Regions from separate parts of the Homo sapiens genome. Here regions 1, 2 and 3 are each linked to region 4. The links are contacts of gene promoters, found by promoter capture Hi-C in human tissues and cell types (Jung and others, 2019). All regions are on one chromosome and are shown on one strand. The core of a region is centred on a gene start or on the middle of the fragment in contact, and the rest is flanking DNA. Distances in the headings are between cores, read along the strand shown.

Region 1 (3,901 bases), core at 388-2,887, 190 kb before region 4:
GCGTGAGCCACCACGCCTGGCCACATTTAATATTTTTTAAAATGAGGGATGAAACATACAAAGGGAACTTGGAGGTCTGATTCCATTTCAGCCGCTGGTTCCGTGGCCTTCCAGAGCACTTCCCAAAAGGTACCACTCATGGTCCTGCCTCAATGACTTTGCATTGGCTGTTCCATCCCCAGCGATACTTTTCCACCAGAGAGATGCCTGACCTCATTCTTGCCCTTGTGTTCAGAACCACAAAACACTGTATATTGTAAAAATGTCCCGTTTGCTTATGCCTGAGTGAATGGGTTTCTGCTGCTAACCCCCTGACCAGGCACAGAGCAGTGGTCTTTGCAAGGATGGGCCTGGGGCCTTTGGGTCATTCCTCCTGAGAAATGCTGCTCAGGCCTTTGACCAAGACACAGGAAAAAGGGAGCAGAGATGCAAACACAGATATGCAGCAACCACTCTGCCCAGATTCACCTCGGCTTCCCCCTTGGCACTTGCTATTTTCACAGCTCTCCAAGGCCATTAGTGACAACTGTGCCCTAAGTAGGTCACAGCGATTATCCCCCTTTTAGGGGCAATCATCATCATCATTGTGAGGCCGCAGGTTGGTGTTTAGTGTCCTGCTGTTCCACGAACTACTTGGACACTTGACAGCACAAAGCCCTTCAGAGAGGCCAGGGGCAGCAATCTGCTCTTTCCTTTTTCCAGAAGGAACAGAGGTTGAGAGAGGGTAAATGAACCCCCTGCCCTGCCAAGAAGAGTGTCAAGTGGGCTTTGGGGAGGGGATGAGTCCCCCTCAGACACTGTGAAAAAAAGGATGGTGTCCTCTGTGCCCAGGATCTGGTGTTGGCACCACAGACCACCCCCTTCCTTCAGAGAACGTCTCCTCTGTCCCTCCATGTGGTCCTGGGGAGGCTGCCAGGCCAGCTCACCGCCACCCTCCCTGCAGTGGGGAGCAGCCGGTCCAAATGGGATCATGAGCCACAAAGCACACAGGAAGTTGGAAATCCAGTGGTGCAATCAGAAGCAGAAAAACAAAACCCCCAAATCCAAGTGTCTCAGTGGACCACAAGATAAATTCAAGTTGGCAAGATAAAAAGGAAGGTTTCGCTAAGTGTTATTTAAGAAAAACAAGCAGGCAGGGCTCAAATTGGGAACAGAATGTGTGGGGATAAGCAAAGCTCTTCTTCTTGTACATCCCACAGTTTCCAGAGAGGAGGACAACAAAAATGCCTTGAGCACTTGAGGTGAGGACCTGGAGGAAAGGTTCAAGAGACCAAAGGCTTGCAACCTGGAGCAGAGAAAAGCACAGCCTCGCTCTGAGGCCCGCCCTTAAAGGCTGTGCCCTGGGCCCTGCCAGGCCCCACCCAGGTCTGGCCCTCACTTCCCTCACTGTTACACATTTGCCTTAAATTAAAAGCAGACCTGCACACAGCCACCCACCCGATCCTAGGGGCTGACACCATATTTTATCTGCCATTCTTTTATTTTTTATTTTTTTATATAGGAAAATGGAGACCCAGGAAGATGCACAAACTTGCCCACAGGTCCCAAGGCTGGCTGGGACTCTGTGGGACTTGAAGCCCAATGCTGGAGCCCACGTCCCTCACTGCTACTCCCTGCTGCGGCCCTGACTCACCCCTTCCAGCCTGCCCACTACTCTCAGCCCTTCCAGGCTGCCCACTACCCCGCCTGATGCTGGGTCCTAAGCCTGTGGGCTCCGGCCCAGCCCAGCTGTGCGTGGATCATAGAGTTGAATGGTGGCTCACTGGTCTCCCGCTCCCACCCCTGCCCCCACCCACACACTGCTAGTTTTCCTTCTAGCAGTCAGAGGGACGCTGTTGAAAGTCATCCTCCTTCCTCCCCACAAACCCTCCAGGGCTCCCACCTCCCTCAGGATGAGGCCAGAGTCCTCCCACTAGCCCCCGTGAGTGCTCTGGCCTGGTGGCATGCCTGCTCCCCTTGCTGCCTGCTCATTTCATTCTGGCCACTCACGGTACTGCCTCAGGGCCTTCGCATTGGCTGTACCCTCTCCTGCAATGCTTTTCCACACTACACAGACAGAACTTGCTCCCTCACCTCCTTCAGACTTTGTTCCACTGCAGCATTCTCAGTAAGCCTTCCTCGAGCGCCTTGTGGTAGAGAGGTACAGAAATACCCTCTAGGGTGGGAAGAAAAGCAGCCAGCCTGGGGCCCCAGTCAGGGCCTCAAGATGTGCCCTTATGTTGCTCCGATCCTGCCCTGTCTCAGGGTGTGCCCTGCTCTCAGATGTGCCTGCCGCTGACGACCATTCCCACTCCGACAAGGAGGCTGCAAAGGCTGTAGCACCCAGGGATGAGGATGAAGCATTTTTATTCTTCCCACTGTAAGACGAAGTAGCATGCGTAAGAAGCCACGTTGGCTCATTTCTGCTTGAACCCCTGACTCTGTGACAACGTGCAGCTCTCTGGAAAGATGCTTTGAAGGCAAAGCAGGATGAAGCGCCCGGCCCCGCACGTCTCTTGCCTGAGTCACTTGATTCCTTAAAAGAGAAGAGCTCTAGTCCTTGCCTTTCTGACAGGCTTAATGACGATGCCTCTGCCATCTATAACCAGAGGTGCTCTTACACCCACACCTTGATGGGCTGCTGCTTCAACGTAACTTCTGAGCAAGTCCGATGTGATTTTGCACTTGCTGAACCTCCACCACCTGTATGTAAGCCGTGGGCTTCAACAGAACTGCCCTGAGGCAGTAGATGTGGTCTGGAGTCCTCAGACTCCTGAATGAAATGAACTTTAGTTCTTCGAAAGCTTGATTTTGTTTTCGTTGTCAACACTGGGAAATTGGGCTTAGAGGGGCTTCCAGGGGCCTCTTTGCCCTCCAGCTTTCCTTGCCTCCTCTTGTCTCCTGATTTGCTCTTATGTTTCTCTACCTTCCAGGAACCCGAGTTGCTAAGCTCCTAGCTCCAGCCTGTCCCACCAGCGGGGGCTCCAAGGGGCTCAGGCTTCCCAGAGTCCAGTGCCCACATAGCAGACAAACCCACATCGTGTGCCCGAGTCTCCTGGCCTGGTTTAGGCATGTGATTACACTCATGGGGTCTGTGTCTCTTGCTCGGATTTAACCACATACCCTCCCAACCCGCCAACTAGGTTTCAATGCAAGGGAAGGCCAGATCCCTGTATGTCATGTCTAACCCACACACCCACGTGAGCGCATGTCTGTGCACATGGAGCGTGTGTCTGGGGTCCCGATGGCAGTGTTTACACAGGAACCTCTGTCCAGTGAGCAGGCACACACGCACGTCCTGGGCATCTGGTGCTAGAACTCTCAGGAGTGAGAATGGGGTAAGGGGCAGAGAGTCCTTTACAGTGGGCCACCAGGGCACCCCCACTGGCGGCATGGACCCACCCCCTCAGGGGGCATAGAAAATATCTGGAGCCTAGGTTGAGGGTATGAACGTCCCCAGGGAGAAGGAAGGTCATCAGTGAATGTAGAGTGGGCAGAGTTGCCCCTTCCAGGGGAGTGAGCAAGGGGCACATCCCGTCAGTGCTGGGTCCACCGAGGGCTTGGGGGCTGCCATTAGCCCATGTGGTGCGTTGTGTGAAGGAAGAAAGCGCCCTCTAATGGTGGCTGCAGTCCCAAGGGTTGCAGGGCTTGGCTAGCGGAGCATGGACTGAATGTCAATGAGCACTGCGCCTTTGGCAGGATGCCCTTGGGCAGTGCACAGCCTGTACCGCTGTACAGGGCATCCGTGGGGGAGGCGGGACTTGTGGAGACACATCAGACCAAGGTCAGCTCCAGTGTGAATGGGGGAAGTGAGGGAACCCGAGGGCAGCAAGAGGTGGAGAGGCATCCAAGAAAGGCCCAGAGGATATGTAGGCTGGGTCCCCACCAGCAGTCACGTGAGTGCCTGGCAAGACCATGAGTC
Region 2 (3,501 bases), core at 481-2,980, 140 kb before region 4:
TATTGGGGTCTCACATTAAATGGCTCTTTTATGGTAATAAATTGTTTCCTTTTCACGGTTGCATGAGCAATCTCAAGTTTTATTTTGAGGTGTCAACTGCCCTCAGGGACACCTGCCACAGGTGGGATCTTGGGTCCTGGCCACCATATGTGAGAGAGCAGACCCTGGCTGAGTCACTCAGCTGTGGTCGCATCACCTCTGTCCCTGCCCCACTGCTCAGCCCCATGCAGGCTGGCAGGGGAGGCCTCCTCTCCCCCATGGGGTCTCCCTTTCTTCCTCTCACACTGATCATTGGAAAGAGTGGCTTGCATTTGCCACAGTGCTGAGGGCTGTCAGTCTTCACAGCTGAGGAAATGACATGATTTGTTGGGAGCCACTTGAAATAACCAGTTCCCCAGCTGGTCTCGCTGTCCCTGTGCTGGCAGCCCTGCTGACGTGGGGCCTGGCTAGACAGAGGTGGGCCTTCTGTGCCCTCACCTGGGCCATCCCCACCATGCGGTGAGGTTGGGTTGCATCCAGCCAGGAGGCAGCTGGCAGGGCCCTGTGGCTTGTCTGAGGACCCAAGGGGGAACTTATCAGAGGGCAAGAGAGAAAGAGGGCTGAGGGGTGGTATGTAAGAGGGAGGGGGCTAGGAGAGTGTAGATGCTTCCTGAAAGGTCACGGATTCTATTGGAATTCCCAGCCAAACTTCAGGACTGGGAAACACCCTTCTTAGGAGGTGGCTAGGGGCTCAGGCTGGCTTGGCTCATTCCTGGCCTGCAGGCCTTGCTCCTGAGCACAGGGCAGGGGCTGCCGGCCCCGGTTCAGAATGGGATCTGAAAGCTGCCTGGAAAGAATGGGCCTCTGGATCAGGATCACCAGGGTGGGACCTGGATATTTCCCATAGTCACCAGACGTGTTGCTCAGAGGGAGGTTCCTGGCCAGCAGCTTTGTTGGCATCACCTGGGAGCTTGTTGGAAATGCAGAACCTTGAGCTCTGCCCAGACTTACTCCCTCAGAATCTGCATGGTAAATGATCTCTGCTGACCCGGGCACTGGGGTTCAAGGACCTCGGCCCTGCCAAATCTGAAATCCAGAGCTAGGCCAAAGTACACTTGTGGAATCAGGATGCTGAATCTAAGTTAAATGCAGAAGCATCCTTTGAGCAAAGGTGGTGGAGTGGGCTGAATTATGACCCTCTCAAAAGATGTCCATGTCTCAGAAATGCAGAATGTGACCTTATTTGGAAACAGAGTCTTTGCAGATACAATTAAGATCTTGAGGTGAAATCACCCTGAATCATCCAAGTGGGTCCTAAATCCAATGACAAGTGTCCTTGTAAGAGAAGAGGAGAAGACACAGAGACACAGGCAAGAAGACCACGCAAAGACAGAGACAGAGATTGGAGTGATGTGGCCACAAGCCAAGAAACACCTGGAGCCACCAGAAGCTGGAGGAGGTAGGAAAGATCCTCCCCCCAAGCTTTTAGAGCGCAAACCCCTGCAGAAACCTTGGTTTTGGACTTCTGGCTTCCAGAACAGTGAGACATTACATTTGTGTTGTTGTAATGATTACAGCAACCACAGGAAACTAAAGCAGGTAGCCTTTTCAGACTCTGCAGAGGAAAAAAAAGCATGGCCAAAGTTACCCAAGAAAGAGTTGATGACCCCACCAGTCCCCAGTCACAGCAGTCTTAGCTTTGTTCCCAGAATTAGCTGACCTCCTCCACCCCATTTCCTTATTCCTTTTTAATGCTCCACAAAACCCAAGGACAGTCGAGACCTGGTCCTGCGTGGCTGCCTGATCACCAGACCGTCAAAAGCTGCCGGCTCCTTCATGCTCCCAAACGTGACTATTTTATTTACTCTTAACTTCATCTTGTTTGGAAATTATTTAAAGCAGTTTCAATGGAGTCAAACTGAGTCATATTTTAACTGCTTAAGTACCACTTAAAAACAGACTTTATGAGTTCACTCGGATTAAGAAACAAAAAAGGAAATAAAAGAAAAATGAAATAAAATAAAAAAGAATAAAAACAGATGTCAACAAGTCCTTTGGCAAATGATCCCACAATGGCTTCATTTTCTGAGCTTAGATGGCGCTAGATGAGGTTAATTTCAAACGAGGTATACTAGTACTAGATTCGAATGGACAGAAACTCTGAAGGTTCTGGGATCGTTTTCCTTTTAGAAAGTTTTCAGGATTCAAAGATAAAGATTCAGGGCAGTGGTTCTCAACTTTGACTCACACTAGAATCATTTGGGGAGCTTAAAAAGAACAGCCACATTCCAGACTCTCCCCAGATCAGGTAAGTCAGAATCTTGGCGGGTAAAGCCCACCCTGGGGCTCCATGGAACCCCTGAGCCAGACCCTGCACCCAGCTTCGCACTGACCTCCACATGCTGCAGGGTGTAGTGTGGTCATGTGCCCAGGGCTGGCCAATCAGATGTGCTCACCCTGAGCTCAGCTGTGAAGGGGCAGGTACCATCCGGGATCCATTCTGCCAGGCATGATAACAGGCAGTGCCAGTGTGGACAGTGGTGGGATAAGCTGTGGGCTGGCACCCCATCGTACAGATGAGGACACAGCTCAGAGGGATCCAGAGACTTGTCCAAAGTCCCATAACTAAGGACTGGCAGAGCTGGGATTTGAACCAGCCCCTCTGGCTGCAACGCCTGCCACCTTTTCCTCCCTTGAAACAGCTCCATGCCTTAATTAGGGGCAGTGTTGGCCAGGCGCGGTGGCTCATGCCTGTAATCCCAGCACTTTGAGAGGCCGAAGCGGGCGGATCACCTGAGGTCAGGAGTTCGAGACCAGCCTGGCCAACATGGTGAAACCCTGTCTCTACCAAAAATACAAAAATTAGCTGGGTGTGATGGCAGGAGCCTGTAATCCCAGCTACTCAGGAAGCTGAGGCAGGAGAATTGCTTGAACCTGGGAGGTGGAAGGTGCGGTGAGCAGAGATGGTGCCACTGCACTCTAGCCTCGGTCACAAGAGCAAAACTCCATCTCAAAAAAAAAAAAAAAAAAAAATTAGGGGCAGTGTTCTGGACTCTGGCTTTCAGGCCTAGCTCTCTGATTCTCCCAGCACATCCATGAGCAACCAAACATGCCTTCTGCTTTTTTTCAAAGTTAATTTTGTTATTGAAGTATCAGATACATACAGAAAAGATCACAGATCCTAAGTGTGCAGTTCAATGAAGTTTGACAAAGCAAACACACTCATGTAATCAGAACCCAGACCAAGAAATAGAACAGGGCCAGCACCTTAGAGACTCTCCCAGGGTCTCTCCTCCCAAACATAACCACCACCAGATTTCTAGATTGGTTCTGCTTGTTTTTGAGCTTTATAGAAACAGCATGATATAGTGCACACCCTTTTCGTGTCTGGCTTCTTTGAGTTAGCGTGGGTGAGAGTCATCCATGCTGCTGTACGTAGCTGAGGTTTCTCCATCCTCCGTGCTGTCTGGTGTGAAGGGCCGTAACCAGCTTACCTGTTCTATTGTGAATGGACATTTGATG
Region 3 (3,772 bases), core at 841-3,340, 170 kb before region 4:
GGCAGCTGCAGTCCACCCCAACCACTGCTGTGGACCCAGGCATCCCTGCACTCTTAGGGGCCCAGGAAGGCTCCCCCTGCCCTAGCAGGCTTGGAAGTACCTGGCTTCCCCCTGCTGTTGGCACCCACTTTGATCTTGGAGCAAAGTTGGGGCCAAGCCCAGGCACTGTCAAGGCCTGGCCAGGTATACACACACTCAGTGCAATGCTGACATGCCAGTCCCCTGCTGCCTCAGCTGTCTCCAAACTTTGGACACCAGCAAGCATAAGAGAGAAGCCAATGGGGTACAGATGGTAGCTCAGTGCTGGCCTGCAGGTGCCCCTTGGCACCTACAGCTTGGCCACCATGAATGGCAGCAGGAGGCAAATAGGTTCCTGGGTGGAAGAGGGTGGGTCTCTGGTGAGGCCCTACCTTCAGGCCAGAAAGGGCCTGAAGGCTCGGGGCCAGGCTACCAGTTCCATGGACCAAAGTGGGAACTTGTGGTGCTTTTTCCAGATCCCCCCATGGCTGCCCATGGACCAATTGGCACTCACTTCCTCCCTCTGAGACCCATAAAACCCCCAGACTCAGCCAGAGCTGAGCAGATGTTGGGAAAACCAGCTGCAGAGAGGAGCTACCCATTCCAGGGTCTCCTCTCTGCTGAGAGCTTCAGAGAACGATGGGATGACCTGCCTGCAGAAGGAGCTACCCATTCCAGGGCCTCCTCTGAGCTAGTCTATCACTCAATAAAGCTCCTCTTCACCTTGCTCACTCTCCACTTGTCCACATACCTCATTCCTCCTGGATGTGGGACAAGAACTTGGGACCTGTTGAATGGCAGGTCTGAAAGGTCTATAACACAAACAGAGCTGAAACATGCCCCTTGTTTGTGACATTGCAGGTGAGGAGCAGGAGAGAAGAGCTGTAATCCTTCAGAGATCCCAGACCTGGGAGCTCCCTGAGCCAGGGCTGTGCCTCTCTCTTTGGGATGCTGCAGTTCCTGGAGTCTCCAAGCTTCCAGGCACCACTGTGTCCCCTGGCGGCAGCTATGGAAGCTACTTGCATTGCACCTGATCCAGCTGCAGCCTCACAGAGAGCCTGTACCCATGCTGGCACCTGGAGTTGCCCGCCCTGCTGCAGCAGCCGGCGTGCCTGTGTGCAGTGACCAGACCCCATGCTCATTCACTCACGCACCCCTCACCGCCCCATGCCTGGCTTGCCCTTGCCAGGCATGGGATCCAGGCTAGGAACATGAGCCGGCATAGCCTGCCAGGCCAAGTGGGCAGAATGAGCCCAGAGGGTCCAAGCAAAACTCGGGCAAAAGGTACCACTGACCACAGAGGTTTCTGGCTAGAAAAGCAACACCTCAAGGATCCCATAACATTTTGGAGGGCTTGTCCAGGATCTGCAGAAGGGTGAGTAAAAGCAGATCTACTCTTTTTATTTTATTTTATTTTTATTATACTTTAAGTTTTAGGGTACATGTGCGCAGATCTACTCTTTCTGTCCTTTTTTCAAAGTCTCTAAACTCCACAATAGTCAAAATGAAAGAAAAATACCAGGCCTCTATCAGCCAGTTAAGAGCAACTAGTGTGGCTGCCAGACTTAGGACACGGAGGACAGGCTTGCTGGGGAGGACACTGGCAACCCTCCATTACCCTCAGATGTTGGGAATGTTGGCTTTGTTCCAAACCAGTTTTCTTTCACAGAGGTCTAGCCATTGTGTGGGACCAGAAGGAGGTCCTGAGGCAACTGAGGGTATCTGGCCAAGGCTACCCTTTGGCCTAATTCAAAGGCCCGTGGACTAACTCCAGTCCCTGACCACCTGTTACAGTGTCAGCACTAGGACCTCCGGTCTTTCCTAACATTCTTTCTTTCTTTCAGGATATCAAGGTTCCTATTTCTTCTTTATGTACCATGTTAAATGTTAAGGATGTTGCCAGGCACAGTGGCTTATGTCTGTGCCAGCACTTTGGGAGGCTGAGGTGGGTGGATCACCTGAGGTCAGGAGTTCGAGACCAGCCTGGCCAACATGGCAAAACCCTGTGTCTACTACAAATACAAAAAAATTAGCCCAGCGTGGTGGTGCCTGTAATCCCAGCTACTCAGGAGGCTGAGGCAGGAGAATCGCTTGAACCCGGGAGGCAAAGGTTGCAGTGAGCTGAGACTGTGGCACTGCACTCCAGCCCAGGTGACAGAGCAGGACTCTGTCTCAAAAAAAAAAAATAAATGTTAAGGATGTTGTTGCAAACCAGAGCTAGTACTGGATTGAATGAGCATTTGGCTTAGTCATCAGAAGTCTAAAATGGAAGGTTAAGAGTAGCACAGAAGCCAAGTGTGCCTTGGTATCTGTACATAAATTTGTGGCAAAAATGTTCTTGTCATTTCCTTGGGTGATAACTTAGTGCCAAGCACCTTGAGGCACAGAAAAGAAGCACGGCCTCAGGAAGGAAGCCTTTCTGTAAACGCGGGGGCAAATGGTCCATGGTCCCATATGTGCAGGCCTTCTTTGCCTTGCAGGGTAGCCTGGACCTTTGCTGATGTAGGATTGATTCAGCCCTCCTACTGGCCATCTCAGGAGAGGCTGCAAGGGGCAATACCAGGGAAGCAAACCCCAGAAGTACCTCCAGCAGGAGAATCAACCCCCTCTGCTCCTCCCTATCCAGGTTATCTCTCAAGCTTGCCCCAGCCTAGGAATCCTCGTTTTAGGCAGGTCCCAGTCTCAACTGCCCCTACAACAGATGCCTGGTGAATATGGCCCCATTGAGGTCCAGGTCCCCTTTTCTCTACTAGACTTAAGGCAAATTAAGGCAGATCTTGGCAAGTTTTCAGGCAGCCCTGACAGGGATATAGAGGCTTTCCAGAACTTAATCAAAATATTTGAGCTCTCCTGGAAGGATGTCATGTTACTTTTGAATCAATCCCTGACCACCACTGGAAAGCAGGCCACCCTGCAAGTAGTAGAGAATTTGGGGGATGAGCTTTGTATCTTATATAGGGCCAAGGAAGGGAATGAGACTTATATGATTGGAAAAATAGCAGCACCACTGGAGGACCCTAAATGGGACCCTAAGGATGAAATGGGAGAATGGAGGGGGAAACACATTCAGGTGTACATACTGGAGGGCTTGTGAAGAACTAGGACTAAGCCTCTCAATTCCTCCAAGATCGCCATGATAGATCAGGGATTAGATGAGAATCCCACTGCCTTCCGGAAAGGCTAAGAGGGGCTTTGGTAAAGCACACCTCTCTAGCTCCTGATTCAGTCGAGGGACAGCTAATCCTAAAGGACAAGTTTATCACAAAGGTGGCCTCCGGATATCAGGAAGAAGCTACAGAAACAGGCTATAGGACGAGATAGTACTTTAGAGAACCTCCTAAAAGTGGCCACCTCAGTCTTTTACAATAGGGACCAGAAGGAAGTCCAAAAAAGAGAAAGGCAATACAAGAAAAAAGCAGAGCCTCTAAAAGCCACCTTGCAGGCTCACAAACCTCAGAGTCCCCAAGATGCATGACCGTGAGGGGCGTCTCAGGTCTTTCCTCCACCATGTCAAGAGTCATGGTAAAAATCACTGTATTATCTGCCCCTCCATGAGTTCAAAAGCTAGAAGTATTGAAGTATTGGCCATTTGGCGTGGCTAAGGTCAGGTAATAAGAGATTTAAAAGGACTTCTTAAAGAGGAGCCCTATGGTTAAAAGTCAACTTTTGGGAGGCCAAGGTGGGCGGATCATGAGGTCAAGAGATTGAGACCATCCTGGCCAACATGCTGAAACCCAGTCTCTACTAAAAGTAC
Region 4 (3,858 bases), core at 976-3,475:
AATTATTTTTCTATTTCTTTGCTATTTTCCATTTCTTCTCACTAATTTAACATGGCTACTAGAAAGGTTTAAATTATGCATGTGGCACACGATGTTTCTACTGGACAGCACAGCAGCACAGGGCTAGCACCGGAGATCCTGCAGCTCAGACGCCCATGGGGTGAACAAAAACCTTGCAACTCTCCCAGGCCAGGGACTGACATATTTTAAAACCGGAGATTTTGATTGAGGAGGGAGTAGAGCTACCACATAAGCAAATATGTAATGTTGTATGTTGTATGTTTCTTTCTTTCTTTCTTTAAGAAAAATCCCTTGGCAACAGGAAGCTTAACTGCACCAACAAGGACAGCAGAAGAAAAGCAGAATGTTAGTCAACAAGGGTCACCCTGACCCGAACCCCAGCCCCAGCTCTCTCCAGCTGCACAGCCCTGGGGAGAAAGGAGAAAGAGCAGAGAAGCCCACCCCTCACACACCCGGTTAGTCTCCCCTGCCCACTGGCAGGCCCTGGGGCAGGCCCCTAGATGGGTCTGCAAAGGGACACTGCCCCCTTGCATTCTGCCCCCCCTTCTACATGGCTCCCCCACCCACCCTTCTACACGGTGGCTTCTGAGGGCAGCCCCTGGAGGTGATCATGACCCCCCATCTTGATCTGAGGATTAACAGATACAGGTTCACCTGGTGAAAATGCAGGAGCTGTAGGGGTAGGACCCATCACTCATCTGACTGCATGTTGTAATTCAATGGACAGTTTACTAAAGTAATAGTCTTCTTCCTGTCCTCTGCTGAGCACCCATCTGGCCAACGGTCCTGCGCTCCCTCAGGGCCAGCGGCCCATCTCCTCCTGTGCCTCCTGGAGGGCTTCGCAACTGCCTCCCTCCTCTGGGGAATCTTGCCCCACTGACTGACCTTTCGGCTCTCAGATCCCAGGTCCCTCCCTCGCAGATACGGCAACAGGCTCTCTTGGGATTTCAATCCCGCCTTCCCATCAGCTACTCTTCAAAACACTAACTGGTATTAGCTCCTTCAGAGAACTCTCTGGCTTTCCAGGCCTACAATCTCCCTCCCTAGAATGAAAGCTCAGTGACAGAAGTGCCCTTAAACTTCTGAGTGACACGAGGCCCTCAGCCGGCCCTGAATCAATACTGGCTGGATCAGTGAGTGAATAAATGCACATGTGAGTAAGGAATGAAGGGAGCGAAAGAACTGGATTAGAAGCTGCTTGGGGCAGAGATGTGCCTTACAGGCTTCATGAAGAGTGGGTGATGAAAAAGGTAAATGGAGCATCTAAGAGGAAGCTTTGATAGAAGGGAGAATGCAAGAGAGGTTGGAAATTGGAATCCATTGGAATTGGGAGCCTGGGGAGATGCCAGGACAGGCACTCTCTGGCCTAGGACTCTGCAGAGGGCAGCCTCAGCAGGCAAGCCAGGCCCCCAGCTTCTGGGGCCGGTCGCACCCATTATGGCCCCGAAACGGCTGGGTGGTGGTCTGCAGCCTGCCCAGGGCCGGCTGGGAGACAGGCAGGGTCCCCACCACTCTCTTGCCTCTGGGCAAAAGCTGGCCTCCTGACCCTGGGGGATGGACGGGAGCAGGGGCCACACAACACACTCCCAAACATATAATCGGCCTCCTTCACCCTCGCCCACGCTCAGTCACACACAGCCTCGGTCATACACACTCACACTCACTCTCCGGCACACTCTCAGAGCATCACATAATTTCAGTGAGACACAATCCCAAAGACTAACACGGACAACCTCTGAGTCTCACACAATCTCAGGGCCACACACAGGCACACAATCAGACGAGCTCAGGAACGCCCCCGTCTCTGACACACGCAATCTGAGGTTTACACGCGCGCGCACACGCACACACACAGACACCAGCCGGCGCTCCCGCACGCGGCTCCCCCACCCCCGCCACGCCACGCCCCCATTGCCTGGGAACTGGCGGCCCCGCCCCGCAGCGTTTGAGGCGCCGCAAGCCTTCACGCCCCTCGGGCCTTGCAGATCCCTCTCCCAGTTTCCGCGGCGGTCCGGTGCGGTCAGTACCTGTCTAAAATCAATATTGCCGAGGCCTCCGCAGCAGTCAGGCCCTGCCACCGAGCTGTTCGTTACCTCGGCTCCCGGGTTCCCAGATCTCTTCATCCGGGGGCCGCCTCAGGAGGCACCACGCGGGCCCCGCTGCAGCCACGCGCCCCCGGAACCGGACCTATAGAGCCGGGTAAGTGCCGCCAGTCGGGGCGCTTTCCCGGTGACCCCCAACATATTCCGGCCTTCTGGGAAATGTAGTTCCCCGTCACCGCGAAGTGCCTCTTTATCTGGGGGCTCGCGACAGCGTCTAGAGGAGCCGAGAACTACAAGTCCCAGTGTGTTTCGCCGCAGAGCCTGCCGGTTCCGCTGCAGCTACGTAGCAGTATCCCCTTGGATCCGGCCTCCCGCCCAGTGCCTTTGGTCGCCGGCTGCCGCACCCGAGCCTGTAACTGACCTGGCGTCCCTGCCCTTGCCTGGCGGCGGTGGGGCTAGAGGCCGGGGGCCGCGGGTCGTAGCTATAAGCAGCTTCCCGCGCAGCCTCCTGCGGACTTGGACTTGGCCCGGGTCACACACGCCCAGGGCCCCACACGCCCAGGGCCCCACGCCCTCTTCTGAAATTCGCTTTACTCTGGGGGCGGTGCGCGACGAGCACTGCCTAGAGCTTCCCGCCCCCGCGGCGCCCAGGCTCTTTAGCTCGGCCAAAGACCCCTCCTCCACTCATTTTTTCCTTCATTCATTCTCTCATTCACTCTCGAGTATTTTCTGAACCAGACTGTGCGCTGAGGGTACGGTAGGGAACAACACAGAGTCCCCCGCCCTCGCTTCCTCCTGACTGAGATAAAAGACAAAATGTGAATAAAGGGTTATAATATGGATGAGTACTGTGGTGGAAAAAACGGGGTGGGTCAAATGGTACGGAAGGATGCTGTCTTAGAATGTGCAGGGGAGGTGCCAGATGTGCCAAGTGTGAGGGCAGGGCAAACAAGGCAAGACGAATGGTATGTACAAAGGCCTGGAGACAGGACGGGCACCTAAGGAACAGAGAAAAGACCGGTGAGCTGTGGAGTAGTGATGGAGGGGGTCAAATGGAGAAGAGTTTAGACGATCGGGTCCCAGAAGAACCCCTTTTGTAGGCCGGGTGTGGTGGCTCATGCCTGTAATCCCAGCACTTTGGGAGGCCGAGGTGGGCGGATCACCAGAGGTCGGCAGTTCGAGACCAGCGTGACTAACACGGTGAAACCCCGTCTCTATTAAAAATACAAAAAATAGCCGGGTGTGGTGCGCGCACCTGTAATCCCAGCTACTCAGGAGGCTGAGGCAGGAGAATCGCTTGAACCCAGGAGGTGGAGGTTGCAGTGAGCGGAGATGGTGCCATTGCATGCCAGCCTGCGCGACAGAGCGAGACTCCCTCTCAAAAAAGAAAAAAGCCCTTTTGTAGCCAGGTGTTATGTAATATGGGGAAATAGACTGAGAGGTTCCAAGATTTGCTCAGTCACCCAGACTGCTGGGGGCCCAGACAGGACTTCTGCAGTCAGCTGCTTCCTGCTCCAGATGGCCCGTTTCTCTCCACCTTGGCCCACAGCACCTACCAGTGTTGAGCATTTACTGAGCAGCCACTGTGTGCTGCTTTAGAGGTAGTCCCAATCTTCACAACATCGCTAGGATGGGGCAGGCCAACCGAGGAGACAGGAAAGACACTGGCTTTGGAGCATGCACTATCTCTGTGACTGAGCCCACCTTCATTTTCCTCAAAAGTAAAAGGGAAATACATGTTGGTAAAACTCATCACCCAGGAACTGGCCTGTGGGAAGTGCTCAGTAGGCATTGG

The links. The method cuts DNA at HindIII sites, captures the fragments that hold promoters and counts their contacts. A contact is called where the count stands out against the background at its distance.
Region 1: a fragment that was not itself captured here is called in contact with the fragment with the promoter of PEMT in region 4 in 1 of the 25 tissues and cell types used here (lymphoblastoid cells).
Region 2: a fragment that was not itself captured here is called in contact with the fragment with the promoter of PEMT in region 4 in 1 of the 25 tissues and cell types used here (IMR-90 fibroblasts).
Region 3: a fragment that was not itself captured here is called in contact with the fragment with the promoter of PEMT in region 4 in 3 of the 25 tissues and cell types used here (bladder, dorsolateral prefrontal cortex and mesendoderm cells).

The regions. Positions count from the first base shown.
Region 1 is chr17:17,397,778-17,401,678 of GRCh38, forward strand. No RefSeq gene overlaps it. Among named protein-coding and RNA genes, the nearest start is that of MED9, 77 kb to the right of the region's middle. The HindIII fragment of the contact is 4,101 bases long and covers 1-3,688 here.
Region 2 is chr17:17,446,534-17,450,034 of GRCh38, forward strand. No RefSeq gene overlaps it. Among named protein-coding and RNA genes, the nearest start is that of MED9, 29 kb to the right of the region's middle. RefSeq lists an enhancer at 1-459. The HindIII fragment of the contact is 3,984 bases long and covers 1-3,501 here.
Region 3 is chr17:17,424,141-17,427,912 of GRCh38, forward strand. No RefSeq gene overlaps it. Among named protein-coding and RNA genes, the nearest start is that of MED9, 51 kb to the right of the region's middle. RefSeq lists a silencer at 562-762. The HindIII fragment of the contact is 4,494 bases long and covers 1-3,772 here.
Region 4 is chr17:17,589,483-17,593,340 of GRCh38, forward strand. It overlaps PEMT (phosphatidylethanolamine N-methyltransferase), which reads right to left and starts at 2,226. Exons shown (of 7, transcript NM_148172.3): 1 at 2,049-2,226. The coding sequence starts at 2,144. RefSeq lists enhancers at 1,671-2,412, 1,978-2,367. The HindIII fragment of the contact is 9,919 bases long and covers 811-3,858 here.